3 separate regions of the Homo sapiens genome follow, and regions 2 and 3 are each linked to region 1. The links are contacts of gene promoters, found by promoter capture Hi-C in human tissues and cell types (Jung and others, 2019). All regions are on one chromosome and are shown on one strand. The core of a region is centred on a gene start or on the middle of the fragment in contact, and the rest is flanking DNA. Distances in the headings are between cores, read along the strand shown. Region 1 holds the start of TPK1 (thiamin pyrophosphokinase 1). Region 2 has its middle 63 kb from the start of TPK1. Region 3 has its middle 35 kb from the start of TPK1.

Region 1 (3,000 bases), core at 1-2,500:
GCCAGCCCATTCACCAGATGAGGCAAAAACCCAAGATAAATATCTGAGCAAGTCACGTAGACTGGGGCCCCCGAGCCCCAATACCAAGCGCCCCTTTATAAGCTCTTACATTTTGTCCAAATTTGAAATGGTTTCGTTAAGGCAGAAGCTTGGACTACTTCCCCATTGCTAGCTTTGGAAAGTAGTCACTTTCCTTTCCGGGCCCTTCGTCCTTGTTGATTGGCTCTGCAAGCAGCGAGCAGCCCAGCCTGAACTCGGTTACACAGTAATTTCAAATCTTAGAAGAATAAAATATCCTGAGTGTTATATAGATTTAAAACACTTGATATAATCATTTGCCAATCTTTTATTAGATAAGCTCGGGGCACTTTCAATGGATTAAAAATGCATCACGGTCAGGCAACGATGACCGTCCTTAATGCCTGCAATGTCTAATGTTCCGCTATGTTCCAGATTTGTTCGCGCTGTTGGTGGAGGCGCAACAGCCGGGAAGCGCTTACTGGGCTCCACACGGACTACACACACTGTATCTTGTCATTTCGTCCTCACAGCAAGGACTGATACGTAAGCTCATTTTTCAGATGAGGAAAATGAGACCGGCGAGAGGCTGATATGCTTAGCGGTACAGAGCTAGGAAATCAGGGACAGAACCCAGGCTGGAAGTCACGCTGGCTCTAGAGCCCCGTCCTTTCGACCTGTTCCCGTCGCTGGGGAGGGGCACGTCAGTGACACTAAACCGTGGAAAGAAATACAGTACCAGTGGAAAGCAGGGGCTCCAACGGGGTAAAGGCATGCTCCATAACGGATTATTGGCCTCTGCATTAAAAAAAAAAAAGTGAAGTTAGACTCTCAGTTTTAATTAAACATCGCGCAGAACCAACAGCACGGGAGCCGCCTGAACCTGGCACTCGGCAGCGGCGCGCTCCGGGACCCAGGAGCCAGCTGAGCTGCGGCGCAGCACCCGGCGCTGGGGACCCGCCACGGCTCGCCTACAGCACCGCCGCGGGCGGGGGCCCCCGGAGACCGGCCGCGCGGGCCGCTATGAGGTCCGAGGGGTTGCCCCTGCCGCCTCTCTCCGCGAACCCATCACCATCCGGGAACCTGGGGAGCGAGAGGCGGCCGCCCCCTTCCGCGGCCCGCGCGCCCGGCAGCAGTCGCACTTACACAATGGCTGGTAGGAGCCACAGACTGGAGATCGCAGGCTGCGGGAGCTACGGCGATCGACCGCTCGGCGCTCGGCTGAGGAGCCTTGGCGCGCGGTCCTCGCTCGCAGGTTTTAGCCCCCGGGACGCGAGGTGGCCCCGCCCGCTTCCGGGAGCCGGAGGCAAGTGGGAGCCGCGCCCTGTGCTCTGCGTCCGGCACTACCCACCTCAAGTCTCCAAGGCTTCGTTTTCTGGGCTGGTTCTGCTAGCTGTAGTACTGCTGCCGGGCCCTCTGCACTCAGCTTTAACAAGGAGGCCATTTGCTTCAAACTAAGTGGCGAATTCCCTATCACCCATGCTTGACCTAGCTTCCAAGCCAAACTTACTTTCCACTGTGCTGCTTCTAGTCCTGCTACCGGTGTCCTCCCTGAGCCGTCGGGTTAAAAGCTTTCCTTCCTGGCCGGGTGCGGTGACTCACGCCTGTAATCCCAGCAGTTTGGGAGGCCGAGGCGGACGGATCATGAGGTCAGAAGTTCGAGACCAGCCTGGCCAGCATGGTGAAACCTCGTCTCTACTAAAAATACAAAAAATTAGCCGGGCATGGTGGCGCGCGCCTGTAGGCCCAGCTACTCGGGAGGCCGAGGCAGGAGAATCGCTTGAACCCGGGAGGCCGGAGGTTGCAGTGAGCCAAGATCACACCAGTGCACTCCAGTCTGGGCGACAAAGCGAGACTCCATCTCAAAGAAAAAAAAAAAGCTTTCTTTAGGGAACACTCCGTTAAGAGCTTTCCTTACTTTGCTTTGTGGAAACAGAATGTTTTTGTTGGAAGAAACTTTAAGCCACCTATCTGCAGCTGCAGAGCGTCACTGTTGCAATACAGGCTTTTCCAATAGTGAGCGAACCTAATCTCCCTCTACCCTCTTAAGGTTTCCACCTGGGCCTAAGAGGTTAAATTGACTTAAGACAGTTTAACAGGGGAAAAGCTTACAGCTATGTGCATGGGAGTCCACAAGAAAAGACCCAAAGAAGGAGGAAGCCTAAATGCTTATATACGGGTTTAGCTACAACAAATTTCAAAAGTCCATGTTTAAATATGACCTTAATGAACCTAAAAGACAATTGGGGTACAAGGAAACTATCTGCACATGTAATAGACAAGTGGTTGCCATGTGTTTATCCTATGAAGAGCTGTTACCAGTTGATGTGTCCAGGTTCTTGGCGTCTTGAACAAAGAATTGGACAAAACGCACAAAGCAAGGAAAGAATGAAGCAAAAACAGAGATTTATTGAAGATGAAAGTACACCCCATAGGTTGGGAGCGCCCGAGGATAGGGGCTCAAGAGTGCCGTTAGAGAATGTTCTGGGGTTTAAATGCCAGCTAGAGGTTTCCATTGGTTACTTGGCTTATGCCCTATGTAAATGAAGAGGATGAAGTAAATTTTAAAGTCATTTACTGGATATAAGCCCTGTGTAAATGGAGAGGATGTTTCCTGTCATTGCTGAAGTACTGCAATTTGATTTAGTTCCAGGAAGTCAGCATGAATCGGCCTTAACATTCCCTGCCTCCAGACCCTATTCTGCCTCAGAACTACATGTCCATTAGTAAAAGGCAAACCAGAAAAATTATGACCAAGGATATAAACAGGCAAGGCAAATTATAGAAGGTAGTCAAATGGCAAAAACACATCACCAATATTCAGAACGAAATCTTGAACAATGAATTCAATGGCAGATTGTAACCAATTTTTTAAGCAGTAATAAAAATTTACACTTACTGATCAATTATTATGTTCCAGTCAGTGTTGAGGTCTTTTATATTTTATTTAATTACCCTAAAATGTAGGCTCCAGGAAAACAA
Region 2 (3,000 bases), core at 163-2,662, 63 kb after region 1:
CTGTTCTTTTGGAACATACCCTCTAAAAGGGACTAGATTAGTACAGAAAAAGTGAATAAAACTGAGATAAAGGACTACCGTGGAAAACATTTTAGACCCCCATAGAAAGAAGACTTAATTTGGTATTTGCATTGTAATATTTCTATTTTGGTTTTTTTTTTGGCAAATTTCTTTTCTCTTGCTTTTTTTTTTTTTTTTTTTTTTAAAGACAGTTTCACTCTTGTTGCCCAGGCTGGAGTGCAGTGGCACGATTTCAGCTCATTGCAACCTTCGCCTCCTGGATTCAAGTGATTCTCCTGCCTCAGCTTCCAGAGTAGCTGGGATTACAGGTGCCTGCCACAACGCCCGGCTAAGTTTTTTGTATTTTTAGTAGAGGTAGGGTTTCACCATGTTGGCTAGGCAGGTCTCGAACTCCTGACCTCATGTAATCCACCCGTCTCGGCCTCCCAAAGTGTTGGGATTACAGGCATGAGGCACCATGCCCAGCCTTTTGGCATATTTCTTAATTGGTCCACTCCTCAGTTTTATCATCTTTGAGATGAAATAAAAATCTGTGTCTCAGATTTGGAAAACTCAAGGGAAAGCTCTTCATAAGGAGCTACGTAGATTTGAAAGATGATATTATTAGTGTGGCATATGGAATGAGCAGCAAAGCCTCGACCTTTTATCCCCCTCATCACAAAGTTCCTTTGTAGAGCTTTTTTCAAAAGCTTAGAAAACAACTACTAAGACAAATATTTGTGTTCTCTTCTTAATAATTAAAATAGGCTATTAGGTCAGAGCAATTAAAATACAAACATCAAGCAAAAGAAAAGAAAATGATGCTTTTCCAGGATAAAAGAAACCATTTGGCTCAGAGGATAGGGCAATCTGATGTTAATTGAGAAAATTCTTTCTTTCTCAATATCAGATAGGACTATGTAGTCTGAAAATGGTTAATGAGAGTTTTAAGTAGCTGTGCTTAAGAACTATTTGATGTCATTCGGAGTTCTGAGGCCTGAAGGTCTCACTGGCAAATAATATCGAAAGGAAGCTCAGACTGGAGAATCATGATCCCACTTTACAATAGCACTGGAGCCCACTTTCTTCTGTTTAAAGATCAACGTGATGAAGGCTGTACTTGGGGGCTCATGCCTGTAATCCTAGCACTTTGAAAGGTGGAGGCAAGGAGAATCATTTGAGGCCAGAAACTCAAGATCGACTTGGGCAACATAGCAAGGCCCTGCCTCTACAAAAAATAATAAAAATATTAGCCAGGTGTGGTGGTGTGCACCTGCAGTCCCAGCTACCCAAGAGGCAGAGGATCATTTTTGAGCCCAGGAGTTCAAGGTTGCAGTGAGCTATGATCACATCACTACATTCCACCCTAGGACACAGAGAAACACCCTGTCTCTAGAAAATAAAGATCAATGTTATGATGGGTGTTATTGTCTACTGGCTGAAGCATTCCCAGGAGCCTCTTAAGCCTGCTTGATTCACACTTGGGCATGGTATTGGGTGAAGGGAAGAAGGATCCATAGGAAGAGATTTCTTTCAATAGGAGGAGGTAGCAGTTTCCCCAAGGAAAAAAATTTGGAAATTCATAGTTAACATTGTACGTGTGTGTATATGTGTGTGTTGAGTACATTTAAGATCTACTTTCTTAACAGCTTAAAGTATGTAATACTGATATGGCTTGGCTATATTGACCCCCAAATCTCACCTTGAATTGTAATAATCCTCACATGTGGTGGGAGGGAACTAGTGGGAAGTAATTGAATCATGGGGATGGGTTTTTCCTGTGCTGTTCTCATGATAGTAAGTCTCAGGAGATCTGATGGTTTTATGGGGAGTTCCTCTGCACATGCCCTCTTGCCTGCTGCCATGTTAGACGTGCCTTTGCTCTTCCTTTGCCTTCCACCATGATTGTAAGACCTCCCCAGTCATGTGGAACTGTGAGTCCATTAAACCTCTTTCCTTTATAAAATACCCAGTCTTGAGTATGTCTTTATTAGCAGCATGAGAACAGACTAATACAAATACAGTATTTTTTTTTTCTGTTACCATGGGTAAGTTGCAATCCAGTATTATTAACTACAGTTACTGTGTTGTACGTTAGATCTCCAGAACCTATTCATCCTGCATAACTGAACTTTGCAGACTTTGACCAACATCTCCCTATTTCCTGCAACCTTTATCCCCTGAAAACCACCACTCTGCTTTCTGTTTCTGAATTCAACTTTTTTACATTATATAAATGAGATAATGCAGTATTTATCTTTCTGTGCTTGGCTTATTATTTTTTTTTTCTAGCATGACGTCCTTCAGGTCCATTCATGTTGTCGTAAATGACAGAATGTTCTTTTTTAAGGCTGTATAGTATCCATTGTGCATGTATATATATACATATCATGTTTTCTTTATCCAGCTATAATGAACACTTAGGTTGTTTCCATATCTTGGTTGTTGTGAATAATGCTGCAATGGACATGAGAGTGCAGCTGTCTCTTTGACATACTGATTTTATTGTTTTGGATATATATCCAGAAGTGGGACTCCTGGATCATATGATAGTTTTGTTTGTTTTTATTTTTTGAGAAAACTCCATACTGTTTTCTATAATGTCTGTACATACATATATATATTCGGAAGGCTGGGGGTGTACAAGTGTTCCCTTTTCTCCCCATCCTTGCCAATGCTTGTTATCTTTTGTCTTTTTGATCATAGCCATTCTAATAAGTGTGAGTGATGCCTCGTTGTGGTTTGAATTTTTAGTTTTTTGATAATTAGAGATGTTGAACATTTTATACTTCTTGGCCATTTCCATGCCTTCTTTTAAGAAATGTCTATTCAGGTTATTTGCCCATTTCTTAAGTAGGCTATGTGTTTTCTTGGTATTGGGTTGTTTGTGTTCTTTATATGTTTTGGATATTAACCCCTTATCAGATGTATGGTTTGCAAATACTTTCTCTCTTTCAATAAGTTATCTCTTCACTCTGTTGATTGTTTCCTTTTCTGTTA
Region 3 (3,000 bases), core at 366-2,865, 35 kb after region 1:
ACGTGAGAAATCCCAGACAGATGCTTTTTGTAAAGCTAAGGGAGAAAGTAAAAACTGATCCTGCTAAAAAAGAGATAACAAAAAGTACATCTGTGAATTATTTAAATCCGGCATTAAAAGGGTAATGCTGAAGAATTCATTAGCAAATTTAAGCACTTCTGTGCAGGCTCCTGATAATTTAATTTTTTCAGCTACTTTATGCAAATTTATCCTCTAATAATTTTTTAGTTTTATCTTTCCTCCTGTCCAAAGTAAAGCACCATAAACTAATATAGGTATATATATTTTAAATTACCTAATATGCATAATACAAGTTGCTGTGTTGCTTAATCTTTAGTCATGCATTCAGCCAAGCTTTATGACTGTCTCCCATGTGCCAGGTTGGTGAAACTGTGGGAGAAAGCTGTGTTTTAACAGAAAGGATATAGGGCCGGGCACGGTGGCTCACACCTGTAATCCCAGAACTTTGGGAGGCTGAGGTGGGTGGATCACCTGAGGTCAGGAGTTCGAGACCAGCCTGGCCAACACGGTGAAACCCCATCTCTACTAAAAATACAAAAAATTAGCTGGGCGTGTTGGCAGGTGCCTGTAATCCCAGCTACTCAGGAGGCTGAGGTAGGAAGATCACTTGAACCCAGGAGGCGGAGGTTGCAGTGAGCTAAGATCGAGCCATTGCACTCCAGCCTGGGCAACAAGAGTGAAACTCCATCTCAAAAAAAAAAAAAAAAAAAAAAAGCGGGGGCGGGGGGTATAGTCATCAGATTTGGACATCTTTGTATTTGAATCAGGCCTTCCTATTTGCTATTCATGTGACTTTAGAAAAAACATATAACAGATAAAGAGTATTTGCCATTAATATTTGCTCTCTAGACAAAGACTGACAAGAACATTAAGTGGGGCCTTCCCCCTTGCCCCTGAGTAGGAAGAAGGCTTGGGTATGTACAGGAAGAGGTGAGGTCCACCAAGAAAAAAGGATCAGACTGTGGTTCTCAAACACCTGCTTTCAGAGAGGTAGACATTTTTATGAGAAACAAAAGACTACTACATTTTTTTTTAAGAGATGGGATCTTGCTGTGTTGCCCAGGTTGGACACCAACTCCTGGGCTCAAGGAATCCTCCCACCTCAGCCTTCCAAGTAGCTGGAACTTTAGGCATGCTTGGCTAAGATGATCATTATCCAGTGTACTGTAGTAGCCTGCTAGGACCATCACAGACTGAGTGGCTTAGCAACCTCTGCCTCCCGGGTTCAAGCGATTCTCCTGCCTCAGCCTCCCAAGTAGCTGGGATTACAGGCATGTGCCACCATGCTGGGCTAATTATTTATATTTAGTAGAGATGGTGTTTCACCATGTTGGTCAGGCTGGTCTCGAACTCCTGACCTCAGGTGATCCACCCGTCTCAGCCTCCCAAAGTGCTAGGATTACAGGCATGAGCCACTGTGCCCAGCCAGATATTTATTTTCTCATGGCTCTTAGAGGCTAGACATTCAAGAGTATGAGCCTGGCAGGGTTGAATCCTGGTGAAGCCTCTATCTTTGGATTGAAGATGGCTGTCTTCTTGGCTGTGTCCTCCCATGCTCTCAGTGTTTCTTTCTCTTCTCCTTCTTTCTTTCTTCTTCTTTTTTTTTTTTTTTTTGAATCAGGGTCTGACTCTGTTACCCAGGCTGGAGTGCAGTCGCACGATCAGAGCTCAATGCAGCCTCCAACTTCTGGGCTCAAGCAATCCTCCCACCTCAGCCTCCCAAAGCACTGAGATTGCAGGCCACCACACCCAGCCTTCTTTCTTTTCTTTTCTTTTTTTGTTTTCTTTTCTTTCTTTTTCTTTTTTTTTTTTTTTTGAGACAGAGTTTTGCTCTTGTTGCCCAGGCTGGAGTGCAATGGCATGATCTCGGCTCACTGCAGCCTCTGTCTCCCAGGTTCAAGCAATTCTCCTGCCTCAGCCTCCTGAGTAGCTGGGATTACAGGCGTGTGCCACTATGCCCAGCTAATTTTATATTTTTAGTAGAGATAGGGTTTCTCCATGTTGGTCAGGCTGGTCTCAAACTCCCTACCTCAGGTGATCCGCCAGCTGTGGCCTCCCAAATTTCTGGGATTACAGGCATGAGCCACTGCACCCAGCCTTCTTTCTCTTTTTATAAAGACTCCAGTCCTACTGAATTAGGGGCCCAGCCTTATGACCTCATTTTACCTTAACCTCTTCCTTAAAGACCCCGTATCCAAACTCAGTAACATTGAAGGTTAGGGCTTCACATATAAATTTTGGGGTGAAACAATTCAGTCCATAACATTCAGGAAAGCCATTGATTGTATTTTATAAGGTGCATAATGAAATGCAATGTGGCAACTATTATTTATTTGTGGCTTTCCCCCATCACATTCTCACTCTCTCACGCATGTATACACACATGTGCACACACGCACACACATTCACACACACAGACATCCCTGCCTATCTCACAATCACACAGACAAGCTTGCCTTAGTGCTTTGCATCTGATTCTGAGTTTTCTACAAGATTTTCTGATATTCATAATGCATGGCTAGTGATTGTTATTGTTTATTTATATTTCTAGTGATTGATTATTTCAGGGCACGGTTTTACCCCATTCTACAAATCTGGTTTGAAGATAATAACAATAATAATAATAGTGGTAGTAAGTAATTTATTGAGTGCTGAGGATGGTACTTATTTCATTTGCTTATTTAATTTTCACAACAATCTGTTGAAGTGGAAACTATTACTGTCCCTATCTCACAGATGAGGAGCTAAGCTTCAGGAGGTAGCGACTTGCCTTAAGCCTTATAATTAGTACATTCCAGGCTGCCTGACTTTAAAGCCAGTGCTCTTAACCTCTGTACGGGGGAAATTTCACACATTGACAAAAATCTGAGAGCCCCGACAAGTCTCCTCTATCTTTATCTTGCAACTGGATTTTGAGCCTAGTTAATCCTCGAGTTAGATTTTTAGTCTTTCCCTGAGTGAGGGGTGCACTGGATAGGG

What was found. The method cuts DNA at HindIII sites, captures the fragments that hold promoters and counts their contacts. A contact is called where the count stands out against the background at its distance.
Region 2: a contact is called between a fragment that was not itself captured here and the fragment with the promoter of TPK1 in region 1, in 1 of the 25 tissues and cell types used here (mesendoderm cells).
Region 3: a contact is called between a fragment that was not itself captured here and the fragment with the promoter of TPK1 in region 1, in 1 of the 25 tissues and cell types used here (mesendoderm cells).

Annotation. Positions count from the first base shown.
Region 1 is chr7:144,834,803-144,837,802 of GRCh38, forward strand. TPK1 (thiamin pyrophosphokinase 1) reads right to left here and starts at 1,251. Exons shown (of 9, transcript NM_022445.4): 1 at 1,165-1,251; 2 at 758-816. The coding sequence starts at 800. RefSeq lists a silencer at 992-1,091 and an enhancer at 1,392-1,461. The HindIII fragment of the contact is 4,228 bases long and covers 869-3,000 here.
Region 2 is chr7:144,897,828-144,900,827 of GRCh38, forward strand. No RefSeq gene overlaps it. Among named protein-coding and RNA genes, the nearest start is that of TPK1, 63 kb to the left of the region's middle. The HindIII fragment of the contact is 4,489 bases long and covers 1-3,000 here.
Region 3 is chr7:144,869,334-144,872,333 of GRCh38, forward strand. No RefSeq gene overlaps it. Among named protein-coding and RNA genes, the nearest start is that of TPK1, 35 kb to the left of the region's middle. The HindIII fragment of the contact is 3,133 bases long and covers 50-3,000 here.